2 separate regions of the Homo sapiens genome follow, and region 2 is linked to region 1. Evidence: promoter capture Hi-C in human tissues and cell types (Jung and others, 2019). All regions are on one chromosome and are shown on one strand. The core of a region is centred on a gene start or on the middle of the fragment in contact, and the rest is flanking DNA. Distances in the headings are between cores, read along the strand shown. Region 1 holds the start of SLC1A2 (solute carrier family 1 member 2). Region 2 overlaps LOC105376626 (a long non-coding RNA gene).

Region 1 (2,700 bases), core at 94-2,593:
GCGAGGGAGCTTTCCCCATGCCAGCTGGAATCTTGGGAGGCAGGACACGACTCCAGATCCTCGGGCTGAATAGGGAAGCCAATGCTATCCCTGCCCGCTGGAGTCTGGCGACTCCTGCCCTTGTCCCAAACCACACGTTTTCCCGCCTCCCGGGAAGCACCCAAATCTCTTCCACCCTTCCTTAGAGCTAGCCAGGGAGATTCCGCCTTCCAGGGACAAGGACCGATCGGAGCGGGCCCAGCATCTCCATGGCGACTCTGCAAACCTGGCGTTCAAGGCCGCGCGCGCTGGTCCTTGCCCCGCCCCAGGGCCCTGTCTTGGCTCATTCCTTCCGAGCCGGCACCACCTGCAAGCCCGCCTCGGGCCTGGGGCGCCGCGCTCCAGGCGCTGCTACCCCGGTGTCTGCTCACACTATGCCCAATCCCCTATTGTTTTGAAATCCCAAAAGTAACCTCAAGAGGATTTCTTCCTCACACTCTCAGGCCCCCAGCGCACCTTACCCTTTTTATCAAAATAAAACAACCCTCCACCTCTCGCATTTTCAAAGGATTAAGCAGCAATCTCCAGGAAAGAAAATCAATCCCCTCCCCACCATCCCATCCCCAGCCAAGCTACGGCTCCGCCACCACCTCCGAGGCCCGCCGCCGCCGCCTCTCTATCCGCATCCCGGATAGGGGCGCCACCACCCCGCGCGTGACCCCGCTTTCCCGCGGGTACAGATAAAAATCCCCTCACCCTTCCGTAGATGCCATGGTCTGGGGAACGCCCCCTCCTCTTCAGCACTATCCGGCAGCTGTGGGCGAGGGAGAAAGCGGACGCCGGGGTGAGCGCGAAGTGCGGCCGGGAGCGGTATTTAAGAGGAGCCTCTGCCCGCCCTTCCACCCGCCTCCGGGGTAAGCCCTTTAGCGCCTCAACGGGCGCAGGAGGCTCCTGCGGGCGCTAATCCGCGTCCCGGCTCTCCACGGCGCGCGACCCGCGCTCCCCTCCGCCCGCGGGGATGGCGCTTGGCGGGGAGCTCCGGGGGCTCCGAGGGTGGCTTCCCCGAGAGAGCGATGCGCCCAGGGCTGCAGGAGGGCGCACGCCGGCGATGCGCCCCTGCAGCCGCTGCCACCTGTGCTTTGCTGCGGGGCTCGCGGGCGCGGCGAGTGGCGGGAGCAGAGAGTGGTGGCAGAGGACGGTGAGCGTGCGTGCGCGTGTGCGGGTGTGTGCGCGCCTGGGGAGGCGGTGGAGGCCGCTGCGCTCTGGCTCGGCGCCGGCCAGGGAGGGATTGCAAGGTTTAGCCCCGCCGGAGCTGGGGATTTGCAGGCGATCCCTCTCTATTTTCGTCGAGAGCTGACATCACCCGCGCCGCCGCCTCGGGCAACTCCTTTAACCGCCGCCCCCCGCCCCCATCTCCAGTCGCGGTCCCTCCTCTGCCATCCCTCCCCCCAGCCTCTCGCCATAAATTAGCCAAATAAGAAAAGAGGCCCCGCCGCTCGTCCGGGAAGGCTTGGGCAGCCGGTGGCAGGAGCCCAGGATCTAAGGAGTAGCTATTGTTTCCCCTGAAGCCCGCGTGGCCCCAGGTCACCCCGTGCGGGGTGAAGCGCAGGCGACCGCGCGGAGACCCGGGATGCCCCTCCGTCTCCGCCTCCCTGGAGCAGCCCCTGGCGCTCCCTCCTCACTCCCCGGAGCACCCGCTTCAGCTCACACTCACCCCCAAACTCACAGGCAGGCACACCCACCCCATCCTCCCACGTCTGGGGGTCCCAGGTCCAGCGGAGTCGAGCGGCTGAAACACGCGGGTGGTGCAGCCTAAACGCGGCCCAGCTGCGCTCCCTCCCCCGCCGAAGCTCGAATAAATCTCTGGCCTTCAATTATTCAGCGAGATTAATATTAATGCAGCTCCCTGGGGGCGGCGGGCGGGGTGCAGGGGAGGCCGGGATTTTTTTTTTTTTTTTTTAGGCCGAGAGAGGTCGGCCTCGTGGGTGCCGGCTGAGAAGGCGCGGAGAGTTGGCCGAGGGGTGAGTGGCGGGGGACGGTTCTCCACCCACTCGGCGCTGCTCGCCGCCTGCTTCCGTGTCCCGGGGGCGGCGCACAGAGACAGATGGGCTTGTGCAAGGGAGAGTTCGAGCCTTCCGGACGCCTTTGCATAAAAATGACGAGACCTGTGCAGCTTTGATTATCTCTGGAATACTGCAGGAACCTAGGGTCCCACTACTTGCCGACCCTGTGAGCGCAGAGCAGGCAAAGCCTCACTTTCCTCGTCTAGGCAATGGAACCCAAAAGAACTCACTTGGAGGGCCACAGGAGAATTAAACAGACTCTCTTTTTCCCCGGGGTAGACGATCTTCGGATTTGCGCTGTGCTGGACCTTGTTAGACGATGGAACGCGACCGGCCACGTGCAAACTCTCTGAGTAGGTCCCGGGGATGGTGCCAGAGGAGCCGGAGTCCCAGCAGGACCGATTGGTAGTTAAATGCCAGGCGCTGATATCCGAAGGCTTGAGTTCTTCACCACCTTCTAGCTGAGTAACCTGGGGCAAATTCCTCCATCTCTCTCTTCATCCCACCTGTAAAATGGGACTATCTTCTCCCACTTCTCTGTGCTAAGAGAACTAAATGAAATGGAGAGGATATGTAAAACTCCTAAAGTGGCGTCTGGCACCCAGTAAACCCTCCAAAAATATTCAGTGCATTTTCAGAGTCCTTAGAAGATAGTTTA
Region 2 (2,700 bases), core at 84-2,583, 390 kb before region 1:
AGTTAGAAAACACTCTTCAGGATATTATCCAGGAGAACTTCCCCAATCTAGAAAGGCAGGCCAACGTTCAAATTCAGGAAATAGAGAGAACACCACAAAGATACTCCTCAAGAAGAACAACCCCAAGACATATAATTTTTAGATTCATCAAGGTTGAAATGAAGGAAAAAAATGTTAAGGGCAACCAGAGACAAAGGCTGCGTTACACACAAAGGGAGGCCCATCAGACTAACAGCAAATCTCTCTGCAGAAACCCTACAAACCAGAAGAGAGTGGGGGCCCCTATTCAACATTCTTAAAGAAAAGAATTTTCAACCCAGAATATCATATCCAGCCAAACTAAGCTTCATAAGTGAAGGAGAAATAAAATCCTTTACAGACAAGCAAACGCTGAGAGATTTTGTCACCACCAGGCCTGCCTTACAGAGCTCCTGAAGGAAGCACTAAACGTGGATAGGAAAAACTAGTACCAACCACTGCAAAAACATGCCAAATTGTAAAGACCATCGATGCTATGAAGAAACTACATTAATTAATGGGCGAAATAACCTGCTAGCATCATAATGACAGGATCAAATTCACATATAACAATATTAACCTTAAATGTAAATGGCCTAAATGCCCCAATTAAAAGACACAGACTGGCAAACTGGATAAAGAGTCAAGACTCATTGCTGTGCTGTATTCAAGAGACCCATCTCACTTGCAAAGACACAAATAGGCTCAAAATAAAGGGATGGAGGAAGATCTACCCACTAAGCAAATGGAAAGCAAAAAAGGAGAGGTTTCAATCCTGGTCTCTGATAAAACAGACTTTAAAGCAACAAAGATCAAAAGAGACAAAGAAGGCCATTACATAATGGTAAAGGGATCAATTCAACAAGAAGAGTTAACTATCCTAAATATATATGCACCCAATACAGGAGCACCCAGATTGATAAAGCTAGTTCTTAGAGACCTACAAAGAGACTTATACTCCCACAGAATAATAATGGAAGACTTTAACACCCCACTGTCAATATTAGACATATCAATGAGACAGAAAATTAACAAGGATATCCAAGACTAGAACTCAGTTCTGGATCAAGCAGACCTAATAGACATCTACAGAACTCTCCACCCCAAATCAACAGAACATACATTCTTCTCAGCACCACGTTGCACTTTCTCTAAAATTGGCCACATAATTGGAAGTAAAACACTCCTCAGCAAATGTAAAAGGACAGAAATCACAACAACCTGTCTCTCAGACCACAGTGCAATCAAATTAGAACTCAGGATTAAGAAGCTCACTCAAAACCACACAACTACATGGAAATTGAACAACCTGCTCCTGAAAGACTACTGGGTAAATGACGAAATGAAGGCAGAAATAAAGATGTTCTTTGAAACCAATAAGAACAAAGACACAACATACCAGAATCTCTGGGACACAGCTAAAGCAGTGTGTAGAGGGAAATTTATAGCACTAGATGCCCACAAGAGAAAGCAGGAAAGATCTAAAATCGACACCCTAACGTCACAATTGAAAGAACTAAAGAAGCAAGAGCAAACAAATTCAAAAGCTAGCAGAAGACAAGAAATAACTAAGATCACAGCAGAACTGAACGAGATAGAGACACAAAAATCCCTTCAAAAAATCAATGAATCCAGGAGATGGTTTTTTGAAATGATCAACAAAATTGATAGACTGCTAGCAAGACTAATAAAGAAGAAAAGAGAGAAGAATCAAATAGATGCAATAAAAAATGATAAAGGGGATATCACCACCGATCCCACAGAAACACAAACCACCATCAGAGAATACTATAAACACCTCTACACAAATAAACTAGAAAATCTAGAAGAAATGGATAAATTTCTGAACACATACACCCTCCCAAGACTAAACCAGGAAGAAGTTGAATCACTGAATAGACCAATAACAGGTTCTGAAATTAAGGCAATAATTAATAGCCTACCAACCAAAAAACGTCCAGGACCAGACAGATTCACAGCTGAATTCTACCAGAGGTACAAAGAGGAGCTGGTACCATTCCTTCTGAAACTATTCCAATCAATTGAAAAAGAGGGAATCCTCCTTTACTCATTTTGTGAGGCCAGCATCATTCTGATACCAAAGCCTGGTAGAGGCACAACAAGAAAAGAATTTTAGGCCAATATCCCTGATGAACATCAATGCGAAAATCCTCAATAAAATACTGGCAAACCGAATCCAGCAGCACATCAAAAAGCTTATTCACCACAATCAAGTTGGCTTCATCCCTGGGATGCAAGGCTGGCTCGACATAACGCAAATCAATAAATATAATCCATCACATAAATAGAACCAATGACAAAAACCACATGATTATCTCAATAGATGCAGAAAAGGCCTTCGACAAAATTCAACAGCCTTTCATGCTGAAAACTCTCAATAAACTAGGTATCGAAGGAACGTATCTCGACATAATAAGAGCTATTTATGACAAACCCACAGCCAATATCATACTGAATGGGCAAAAACTGGAAGCATTCCCTTTGAAAACTGGCACAAGACAATGATGCCCTCTCTCACCACTCCTATTCAACATAGTATTGGAAGTTCTGGCCAGGGAAATCAGGCAAGAGAAAGCAATAAAGCGTATTCAAATAGGAAGAGAGGAAGTCAGATTGTCTCTGTTTGCAGATGACATGATTGTATACTTAGGAAACCCCATC

Evidence for each region. The method cuts DNA at HindIII sites, captures the fragments that hold promoters and counts their contacts. A contact is called where the count stands out against the background at its distance.
Region 2: a contact is called between a fragment that was not itself captured here and the fragment with the promoter of SLC1A2 in region 1, in 2 of the 25 tissues and cell types used here (H1 embryonic stem cells and aorta).

What each region holds. Positions count from the first base shown.
Region 1 is chr11:35,418,215-35,420,914 of GRCh38, forward strand. It overlaps SLC1A2 (solute carrier family 1 member 2), which reads right to left and starts at 1,344. Exons shown (of 11, transcript NM_004171.4): 1 at 736-1,344. The coding sequence starts at 752. SLC1A2-AS2 (SLC1A2 antisense RNA 2) reads left to right here and starts at 843. Exons shown (of 2, transcript NR_186310.1): 1 at 843-893; 2 at 2,322-2,700. RefSeq lists an enhancer at 990-1,490. The HindIII fragment of the contact is 13,805 bases long and covers 1-2,700 here.
Region 2 is chr11:35,023,529-35,026,228 of GRCh38, forward strand. The region is part of intron 3 of LOC105376626 (a long non-coding RNA gene); the gene reads right to left. Among named protein-coding and RNA genes, the nearest start is that of MIR1343, 83 kb to the left of the region's middle. The HindIII fragment of the contact is 5,690 bases long and covers 1-2,700 here.